2 separate regions of the Homo sapiens genome follow, and region 1 is linked to region 2. Evidence: promoter capture Hi-C in human tissues and cell types (Jung and others, 2019). All regions are on one chromosome and are shown on one strand. Each heading gives the region's core, a stretch centred on a gene start or on the middle of the fragment in contact. The rest is flanking DNA. Distances are from core to core; before and after follow the strand shown. Region 1 overlaps GPD1L (glycerol-3-phosphate dehydrogenase 1 like). Region 2 holds the start of CNOT10 (CCR4-NOT transcription complex subunit 10).

Evidence for each region. Contacts are between HindIII fragments. The study calls those that stand out against the background at their distance.
Region 1: a contact is called between a fragment that was not itself captured here and the fragment with the promoter of CNOT10 in region 2, in 1 of the 25 tissues and cell types used here (pancreas).

Annotation. Positions count from the first base shown.
Region 1 is chr3:32,160,598-32,166,055 of GRCh38, reverse strand. GPD1L (glycerol-3-phosphate dehydrogenase 1 like) reads right to left here. Exons shown (of 8, transcript NM_015141.4): 8 at 1-242. The coding sequence ends at 146. Among named protein-coding and RNA genes, the nearest start is that of GPD1L, 57 kb to the right of the region's middle. The HindIII fragment of the contact is 3,505 bases long and covers 1-3,013 here.
Region 2 is chr3:32,680,994-32,686,679 of GRCh38, reverse strand. CNOT10 (CCR4-NOT transcription complex subunit 10) reads right to left here and starts at 1,492. Exons shown (of 19, transcript NM_015442.3): 1 at 1,198-1,492. The coding sequence starts at 1,219. RefSeq lists a silencer at 1,382-1,691. The HindIII fragment of the contact is 8,061 bases long and covers 1-5,686 here.

The DNA of each region.
Region 1 (5,458 bases), core at 12-2,511, 520 kb after region 2:
AATTCAAAAACGAACCTGTAAAAATTCATACATATCCGTGATGAGATTACAGTCAAACATCATGTTGCCAAGTCCTGGTTTCCACGTGAACCCAAAAGATTGATCAGAAAGGCAGAACTTCCCCCAACACGTTGCATGATTCACTTTATGTATGCTCTGGATGGCTCTGAAGACAAGACAACATCTCTTGAACTGGTCTGCTTTCGTAGCAGATCTGATACACTGCAGTAAACAATGGAAACCTAGTTGGGAGGAAATGTGAAAAGACAAAGTTAGGCCACTGGATTTACCTCAGAGAATAAGTTAGGTTTTCTGTCCTAACAGATTGCAGGTTAGTATGTGACTATGGAAAACACAGTGAGCACTTTCTACATTCCTTTATTATTTGGTCTGCAGAGAGCCTCTGGAATGTGGCTGTCAGATCCTGGGGCAACCTAGACCATCCTCTGCCTAATTAAGCTTGGAGCACACTGTCCACAACCAAGTCACACGGTGATCCTACCAGGGCAAACTGTTGTCATTTACATAGGAGCTGTGGCTCCAACTCTTGGTCAAATCTTGGAGGAGTCTATATTCTGTCATTATTTTAAAAGTTGTAAAAATAAATTTTTAAATTGCAAGGAGGCATTGCTCTCCCTTCTCCAAAAAGAATCATCCCAAGGTAACAAATAATGTAGGCTGGAATGCTCCCGCAAGAATCCGAGTGAGGACCCACGATTAGCAAAGCACTCATCTTATGTCAGAAGCTTGATTTATCTTACCTTTTCTTCCAAGATGTGAATACAGATATAAGTGAAAAATCACTAAAGAAATAATTTCATCAGGCTTTTTTTCTTTTTTCTTTTCTTTTGCGACAAAGTCTCACTCTATCGCCCAGGCTGGAGTGCGGTGGCATGATCTTGTCTCACTGCAACCTCTGCCTCCTGGATTCAAGCGATTCTGCTGCCTCAGTCTCCTGAGAGTAGTTGGGATTACAGGTGTGTGCCACCACGCCTGGCTAATTTTTGTATTTTTAGTAGAGACGGGGTTTTACCATGTTGGTCAGGCTGGTCTCAAACTCCTAACCTCATGATCCACCCACCTCGGCCTCCCAAAGTGCTGGGATTACAGGCGTGAGCCACCGCGCCGGCCCAGGCTTTTAAATACACACACACACATAGCTCAAAGTGAGCTTGGCAGAATCAATAGAGTCTTGAAAGGCAATCCTGAAAATTAGCTGGACAGAACCTTATAATGATAATTTTTAAGAAGAACAAATAGTACTAATAGATCACATGTCTTTATGAGAGTCTATCGTTGTAGGGTTGTTTCTTCATTGTAGTTTTTTTAAGGTACGGAATGTTTTGCTACTTTTTTGTGGAATGTTTTATTTTTTTGGAGTCAGGTAGACCTAATCAACTCTGACTCTACAGCCTACTAACTCTGGGCAAGTTTCACAATCCTTCTGACCCTGTTTGCCCATCTGTAAAATGGGACTGGATACACAGCCTTGCTGCAAGTATTAAATGACTTATGTGTGAAGCACACAGTACACACTTGGCAAATGGTGGATGTGCAGTAACAACAGCTTATAATAGCAGCCACAAGATGGATAGTGTGTCCTGGACCGAGAAAGCTCCCTGAGGACTGGGACCAAGTCTGTTTTTTTCACTACTGTATCCTCAGTGCCTGGCACCATGCACGGCAAGGGGCAGGTGCTCCGTGAGAATTCGTTGAATAAATTCCTGTGGATTGGATTTAAAGCCTAGAAACTTCAGCCCCTTTCTTTGTCCTTCCATGCTATGTTTCCCTGTTCCTAAAACAAGAACAATGTATATGTCCCCAAAGCAGTGTGGTAGCAGATGACTGGCCATCCAAAGCCATTTCCAACCTGCTTCTCCCTTTCCCCAAGGTTGGAAGAGACTACTCACCTTCCTAGCCTTTCACCTAGAATTGGTCAAGTAACACAGTCCTAGGCAGCAAGACATAATATATCTGCTGAAGGTTTCTCGAGGAAGATTTCTCGAGAGGCACTAGAGGAAAAATCTGTTACCCCAGACTACTCTTGTTCCCTTCCTGAGTGTAAAAGTGAATGTGATGCCTGGAGCTGCTGCAGCCATCTTGAGGTTCAAGGGAAAGCCAACAGGATCACTGAGATTCTAATCCAGAGCCAGAGCCACTGGGCCAACACTTTAATAATGTTCACCTCCATATTCCCTGTTATAACTGTGTGTTGGTCTTGCAGCTGAAAGCACTCCCAACTTTTAAAACTATCATTTCCAAAGTGCATTCTGTGGAAGGGATGTTAACAAGAGATATGAAGTGTGTGGAAGAGAAATTTCTACAGACGAGTAACTTGTTTAATCCTTACAATCACCCCATGAGGTAGAAAATATTGTCCCCATTCTATATATGAGTAAATTGAACCACAGTTTTGGACTCTGAAGCCAATGATCAACCATTAGGCTACACTGCCCATCTAAATATTATTTTCTATTACATAAAATGCTAAAAGGACAATTAGATCAGTTTGGAAGACTCTCTAAATAAAGTTAGAGGTGAAAGGAAGAAAAAGACAACATTTCATTTAAAAAAATGACAAACCAGAGGCCTGGGTGTGCTGGCTCACGCCTGTAATCTCAGCACTTTGGGAGGTTGAGGCAGGTGGATCACGAGGTCAGGAGATCGAGACCATCTTGGCTAACACAGTGAAACCCCGTCTCTACTAAAAATACAAAAACTTAGCTGGGCGTGGTGGCGGGCGCCTGTAGTCCCAGCTACTCAGGAGGCTGAGGCAGAAGAATGGTGTGAACCTGGGAGGTGGAGGTTGCAGTGAGCCAAGATCGTGCCACTGCACTCCAGCCTGGGCGACAGAGCAAGACTCTGTCTCAAAAAAAAAAAAAAAAAAAAAAAAAGGACAAACCAGTCAGCCAGCTATCCCACTAATCAATACTGAGGGCTTAAGATGTTTCAGACTTCAGACTAAGTGCAGGGATGTGCAGTATTATAAATAAAGCCAGGCCAGGCGTGGTGGCTCATGCCTGTAATCCAGCACTTTGGGAAGCCAAGGTGGGCAGATTGCTTGAGGCCAGGAGTTCGAGACCAGCCTGGGCAACGTGGTAAAAACCAGTCTCTACTAAAAATGCAAAAATTAGCTGGGTATAGGGGCACACGCCTGTAATCCCAGCTACTGGAGAGGCTGAGGCAAGAGAATTACTTAAACATGGGAGGCGGAGATTGCAGTGCTGAGATTGCACCATTGCACTCCAGCCTGGGTGACAGAGTGAGACCCAGGAGCTTGCAACATGCACCTCAGAGAACATGTTGTGTACGGGCTGAATTGTGCCCTCCTCCCAATTAATATGCTTAGGTCCTAACCCCTAGTATCTCAGAATGTGACACGGTCTTTGAAAAGGTAATTAAGGGCACTTTGGGAGGCCGAGGCGGGTGGATCATGAGGTCAGGAGATCGAGACCATCCTGGCTAACAAGGTGAAACCCCGTCTCTACTAAAAATACAAAAAATTAGCCGGGCGCGGTGGCGGGCGCCTGTAGTCCCAGCTACTGGGGAGGCTGAGGCAGGAGAATGGCTTGAACCCGGGAAGCGGAGCTTGCAGTGAGCCGAGATTGCGCCACTGCAGTCCGCAGTCCGGCCTGGGCGACAGAGCGAGACTCCGTCTCAAAAAAAAAAAGAAAAGGTAATTAAGGTAAAATGAGAGGCAAAGAAAAGTTCCATTCAAGAAAAGACGGTACCATAGGGAGTAAGAGGATGTACTGCAGGAAGTTACATTGGTGCTAGATTGAGGGGGGCCACATCTGCCTAAGGACCATGTGCTTCACTCTATAAGAGCAGGAGGCCTCTGAATGTGAATGCTCAAGCTGGTAGGGACCATGGTGTTCATCTGGTCTTCCATCTTAATTTTGTGGATAAGAACACCGGGGCACAGAACAGCTAAATACGTGACTTGCCCAAGGCCACAGGGCTAATAAGCCACAGGGCAGCCTTGAATGCTGCCCTCCTGCTATTTTTTCTATAGCAATGGAGAAGAGAAGGGAGGGAGAAGGAAACAGAGGAAGACCGGAGTAGTGGTGGTCAGAATGAAAAAGGAAAAAGGAATCAAAGTAAGAGGTGGTGCAAAGGGAGCACAATAGGCCTCTGCCTTTGGGAGGCAGGTGGTACAAGGAATGGGGAGGAGTCCCAGGGGATTCTACACTCCAGCCCAGGAGAAGGGTGCTGCCACGTCCAATCCAGCAGCGATGTTATTAAGCACAGGTGGAGCCTGTTCAATCTCTAATCAGAAGAAATAAAATGGGACATGACCAAGGAGAGATGTCTGCTCAGAGCAGAGATTTACCTGCTTGATTACACCTGCTTTTGAAAACAGGGAGCTACTGGCCCCAGAATCGCAATTCTAGTCCATGTCCCCCTGGAGCTAACAGGCTAATGCCCAGCCAACCTGTCCATCCAGAGAATCCTATCAAGGCACCCCATGGTAGCACACTTGGGGTGTGTTTCAAGATGCCACTTGAAAATTCTGGTTGGGAGAGTCTCACTAAACAGCCAAGTATTATTTTTTTTTGAGACTTAAAAAAATTTCTTGATAAATGCTCAGTGGTCATTAAAGTAGTCCAACCACACACAAACATATCACTGTCTGCTGCTAAGTAGGTAAGGAAAACCATGCATGTCAGAGGCATTTTCCTTTTAGCCACAATTTAAAGGTAGTTCTCCTCCTTTGGCAGCCTGTTTGTGAACTTCCATCTCTGCATGGCTGGTTTTAAAAGCCATTTCAGAAAAATAAAGTGCAAATTTAAAAGGTAAGACAAATGCTCCATCCACCCTCATTTTTAACTTTCAGTACAGAACTCCATGGCTGATTAATTTGTTCTGGGTAAAAGGAGGAGGGGTGCTGGGTGCAGGGGGAGGTAAAGATGCATGACTGGGACCAGCAGACACCTAAACTGACAGAACCAGGATAAAGGAGCTGCAACCAGAGATAATAGCAACAACATCCACGACCCTCCTCCCAGCTTGGAGAGAAGCTCATGCTCTAAATTAGCCACAATCAGCATGTCATTCCAGCTGCCCAGCTCCCTTCAGTCCTAGGCAACAAGACCTCCCCTCCCCTAGAGAGTATTACGGGAGAGTTAAGGATACATGCAATATGCTGCATAAGCATTTATGCAGTGGTGTAGTTGGCATCATGATTATGGTCCTCCACAATCATGCTCAGTAAATCGGCAAGAGAAAGTGCTGTGGAGCAGGTAGGGCTGGAGAGTGGCCTCAGGAGAGGCTGGGAAGCTTTTCTGGTGCTACAGGGCTCACTCTCTCAATCAGGTGGCAAATAAACTGACTTAAGCCCACCTTTAACACACAACTGGCCTGGAAGGGCAATGGAGGATGGATGCACCCACCCATCTATCCATCCATTCACCCATCCCACCCATCCACTCACCCATCTATCCATGCACCCATCCAT
Region 2 (5,686 bases), core at 243-2,742:
TTCCTGTCTAATAGTCTCTCCCTCATCCACCTTTCCTCATTTCTTATGGCTCATTCCCTCACTTCTTACATATCTCTGCTCAAATATCATCTCACCAGAGGCCTTCCCTGAACAACCTATCCAAAATTTCACAGCACATTCCTTATACCCTCTCAAGGCCTTTGTTCTGTTGTTTTTCTTCTTAGATTATTGAAGAGATCCTCTAATGATTTTTATTCCTCTGTACCTAAAATAGAATTGGCTTAATTTCCAAGTGAAGTTCATTTGTCAGTTATTGTGACCAGAACCTACTAAAATCCACAGCACACTGAGTTTTTCTTTAATTTTAAATTAAATTCACTGTAAAAATTTTAAGTTCCATCACTTTTAAATCCTGTCACTTAAGTTCTTTCCAATAAAACCTGGATGCCACAAAGAATATGAATTTCTTGCGGGAAACATTCCGGACAAGGTCAGGAAATAATTTTATATTCCTTAATGTGGAAGATTCTAGGAATGGGAGCAATAATCCATAAAGAAAACCATTGAGATTAAGTAATTTCGAGGAACTAGAGCAATTAAGTACCAAATGCAAGATTTTAGGAGCACAGACTGTAGAGAGACAATAGGATTTTATGCCTTTTTAAATAAGTGGTTTACTTTGAGAGGCCAAGGCGGAAGGATCGCTTGGGCCCAGAAGTTCGAGATCAGCCTGGGCACCATAGCGAGACCCCCGCCCGTCTCTATCAAGAAAAAAAAAAGTGGTTTTTACAAAGTTAATTTCACAGGAGTCAATGACCAGAGGAAGCCACATGTGGTCAAAACAGCCCAGGTGAATCCCAGCCTCAGCCACGCGATATTATAGGCAGATGTGTGCTCCAGGGTGACTTTCTCTTGTCTGCTTTTCCCACGAAGAAGCGGAAAATTCTGCGAAGCGGCAAAATACATTTAAGCTTTTTGGGCCGGAGTTATTCTGAAGAGCAGGGCAAAGGCGGCCAGTGGCGACTTCAAATACTGCACTTGAGTAAAACAACTATTGGACCCGGGGCCCGAAGACTCATGTTAGCGACAGCCGAGACAGAGGATGGGGTAAAGAAATGCACGCCCAAATTCAAGTCGCCCTGGAGTCCCCACCCCGGGCCCCGCCGCCTCCGAGTTCAGGGTCCGCCCGGCCCCGCACGTCCCGCCGTCTCGTCGCTCGGGACATTGGCGCCCTACCTGCAGGCTTGTCTGCAGCCATCTTCCCGCTTCGACTCGGGTTCTTCCCTGCAGGTGGCGTGGCCCTGACTCCCGCCGCCGGGCTGGCCGCTGTCCTGGACCTCCGAGGACAACTCTGTGCCTACCCCGGCTCCGGGCCCCCAGGTTCCGGCTAGAGGAGTGGGCAGACGGCGGGCTGAGGAAGTGACGAGAGCTAGTTCCCGTCGTCTAGCAACAGCAACAGCTTCCCCACCAAGGGACCGCCACAGCCTCCCGCCATACACAGCTTCCGCCTCACGGCGTCCCGGTACCCACTACTTCCGGGGGCGGCAGCCTGCCGCGCCTGGAGCGCCGGCGTGGGAACTGCTACTGGCCCCGCCCCACGCCGACGTCCCCTCCGCGCCCCGCCTCCGGCCGGACGTACTCTGGCTGGAACCTCTGGATGTTCACAGGGCTGACGCGGTGGGACGTACGCGCGTCTGTCCTTTGCTTACTCTAATTAAAACACCGAGGTGTCAGAGCTTTTGTCCCTCAATGTTACATAATATTACAATAACCACATCTGACATTTATGTGCTAAGCACTGAGCCCTGCACTTGGTCTGTACTATCTCATTGATTTCTTGCAACCCCATGAGAGAGGCGCTGTTGAGGATTCCCGTTTAAAAAGAAACGCCTTTTATTTTAGAATAGTTGTAGTTGTGCAGAAAAGTTGCAAAGATGACACCTAGAGTTCCTGTCTCCTCACCTAGTTTCTCCTATTGTGAACATCTTAATTATTTTACTATGTTACGTTGATCACATCTAAGAAACCAGTTTGATTGGCGCACTATTACTCACTAAACTACACATTTTATTCACATTTACCAGCTTTCTTTCAATGTCCTTTTTTTGTTGTTGTTCCAGGATCCTGTCCAGGACACCATATTGCATTTATTCATTATGTCGTCTTAGGCTATTTTTGGCTGTGGCAGTTTCTCAGATTCTTCTTGTTTTTGATGACCTTGACAGTTTTGAAGAGTTACTCCTCAGATATTTGGTGGAATGTGCCTCAATTTGGGTTTGGCCAATATTTTTCTCATGGTTAGACTGGGGTTTTGGGTGTTTAGGAGGAAGACCACAAGGTGACTGGCTGTTCTCATCACATAGAATCAAGGGTACATGCTGTCAAAATGACATCACTGATCATGTTAACCTTGATTACCTCTCTAAGGTAGTGCTTGCCAGTTTTCTCTACTGTGCAATTACTCCTCCTACCCTTCCACACTACTTTGGAACCAAGTCAATAAATGCAACCCACACTCAAGGTGGGAAGGCGGGGTATTTAAGCTCTACCTCCTGCAGTGGGGAGTATGTACATAAATTATCTTCCCCAAGGGAAGTTTGCCTCTTCTCCCTCACTTAGCTATTTATATCAGTATGGACTCATGGATGTTTATCTTATAATGGTTACATTCCAATACTACATTATTTTGTTGCTAAAATTGTCCCAGCTTTGTTAATTGGGAGATTTTTCAGGTTTGTACCTGTTTTTTTCTTTTTTTTTAACTTTTGTTTTAAACTTTCTTTTAAAAAAGTATTTGTTTTTGGCCGGGCGTGGTGGCTCACACCTGCAATCCCAGCACTTTGGGAGGCCAAGGCAAGTGGATCACTTGAGGTCAGGAGTTTGTGACCAGCCTGGCCAACATGGTGAAACCCCGTCTCTACTAAAAATACAAAAATTAGCTGGGCGTGGTGGTGTGCACCTGTAATCCCAGCTACTTGGGAGGCTCAGGCAGGAGAATCCCTTGAATCCGGGAGGCGGAGATTGCAGTGAGCCAAGATTGCCCCACTGCACTCCAGCCTGGGCAACAGAGTGAGACTCTGTCTCAAAAAAAAAAAAAAGTATTTGTTTTTTCTTAAACTTTTTAATTCAGGCTAACATACACAAAGAAAAGTGCATGAATCATAAGTACAGTGTATTGACTTTTCATCAACTCAACACATACATATAACTAGCACCCAGAGAAAGGGCAGAGCTTTACCCATATCTGGGAGTTCCCCTCATGCCTCTTCCCATCTCTCCACAAAGATAATCATTATGCTGACATTTAACACTATGGATTAGCTTCACCTGCTTTTAAACTTAATGTATATACATTATACAATATATTTTTTAGGGTCTAGCTTCTTTTGCTCGATAGTATGAGATTCATTGACATTGTTGAATGAAGTTGTATTTGTTTCTCATTGTTATATATTATAATGTTACATTATGTGAATATTCCTTAATTTATGTATTCATTTTATTGTTGGGCATTTGGATATTTTATCTATTTTGAATAGGGCCAATATGATTACTCTAGTATGACTTTTGATGAATATGTGCCCACCATAAAAAGGCATACCTGGCTGGGCAAAGGCATACCTGGCCGGGCACGGTGGCTAATGCCTGTAATCCCAGCACTTTGGGAGGCCGAGGCAGGCAGATTACCTGAGATCAGGAGTTTGAGATCAGCCTGGCCAACATGGTGAAACCCCGTCTCTACTAAAAAAAAATACAAAAATTAGCCGGGCGTTGTGGCGGGTGCCTGTAATCCCAGCTACTTGGCAGGCTGAGGCAGGAGAATTGTTTGAACCCGGGAGGCAGAGGTTGCAGTGAGCCGAGGTCGTGCCATTGCACTGCAGCCTGGCCAACAAGAGCAAAAGTCTATCTCAAAAATAAATAAATAAATAAATAAAATAAAGAATAAAAAATAATAAAAAGGCACACCTGAAGTGTAGTAGGGAGCCTCTTAATGAAAAGGAATTAGGAGGAATCTCTTATAGAATTTGGGCTTATTCTAGAGGGATTGGGAAAGTAGGAGGCCAAATTTGAATTGGATGCTGTCAGGAAACAAGCAATTCAGTCTTGGTTTTATCTAAACAGAAGGAGGAACAAAGCAAGCTAGAGCTGTCATTGGTTAAAAAAAAAGCGGGATCATTTACATTAGAAGAAGGGGGTGTTTTCCCATTTGTGTGGTTGTTGAGGGCCTTGTTTCTGTCTTGTCCAAAACACGATCATGGTGAAACTGTCTATGAACATTGTTCATATTCTGTGAGTGCTGTTTATGTCCAGTTGGGAACATTCTACTAACAGAACTGTTTTTTTTTTTTTAATTTTCTTAGTCCCCTTTTCACTTTCTCACATGTGGTCACATCTATGTTGGTTCTTGTCCCCCATTTCATAGATAGGGAAACTGAGGCACAGATGTTAATCCACTTTCCCAAGCCACAAGACTGGTAAATGGCTATTATCTTAACCACTACATTCTAGATTCTAGGATTTGCTATTATATTGAAGATATTTGGGCTCTCTTCCCTCTACTTTCCGTATCAGCAGCTCTCCCTTTTTTCACAATCAGGCTGACATCAATGATGGATAACTAATTCAGGAGTGGGGAGGTGGAAAAGCTCAGTAGGATTTTGCTCCGTCATAAACTACGGTGAGTCACTTTACCTCCAGCTAATAATGATACCACTATCCATTCACAGTACTTTAGACTGTATGTGGTTTGTTTGTTTGTGTCTGTGTTTTGAGACAGGTTTCACTCTGTTACCCAGGCTGCAGTGCAGTGGTATAATCATGGCTCACTCCAGCCTCTAACTCCCAGTTTCAGGTGATTCTCCCACCTTAGCCTCCCAAGTAGCTGGGACTACAGGTGCACGCCACCACACCTGACTAATTTTTTATATTTTTGTTATTTTTATTTTTATTATTATTTATTTATTTATTTATTTATTTTGAGATGGAATTTCTCTCTTGTCAACCAGGCTAGAGTGCAGTGATGCGATCTTGGCTCACTGCAACCTCCACCTCCCGGGTTCAAGCAATCTTCCTGCCTCAGCCTCCCAAGTAGCTGGGATTACAGGCGCAAGCCACCGTGCTTGGCTAATTTTTCTTTTTTTAGTTCACCACATTGGCCAGGCTGGTCTCGAACTCCTGACATCAGGTGAACCACCCGCCTCAGCCTCTCAAAGCGCTGGGATTACAGGCGTGAGCCACCTCGCCTGGCCTAATTTTTTGTATTTTTGGTAGAGACCGGGTTTTGCCATTTTTCCCAGGCTGTTCTCAAACTCCTGGACTCAAGGGATACACCCACCTCGGCCTCCCAAAATGTTGGGATTATAGGTGTTAGCCACAGTGCCTGGCCTATATGTGATTCTTACTGCTTGTGGAAGACTGCCTCCAGAGAATCATACAATATGTGACCTTTTACATCTAGCTTCTTGGTTGACAACTCTTACCATCCCAATACGCACATGCTGCTCCTCCCATCCATCAGGAGGTGGAGTCGAACCCAATGTATAGCATGGTGACTATAGTTAATAATAATGTATTGTAAGGTTGGGTGTGGTGATTCACACCTGTAATCTCAGCACTTTGGGAAGCTGATGCAGGTGGATCACTTGAGCCTAGGTGTTTGAGACCAGCCTGGGAAACATAGCGAAACCCTGTCTCTACAAAAAATACAAAAATTTGCCAGGTGTGG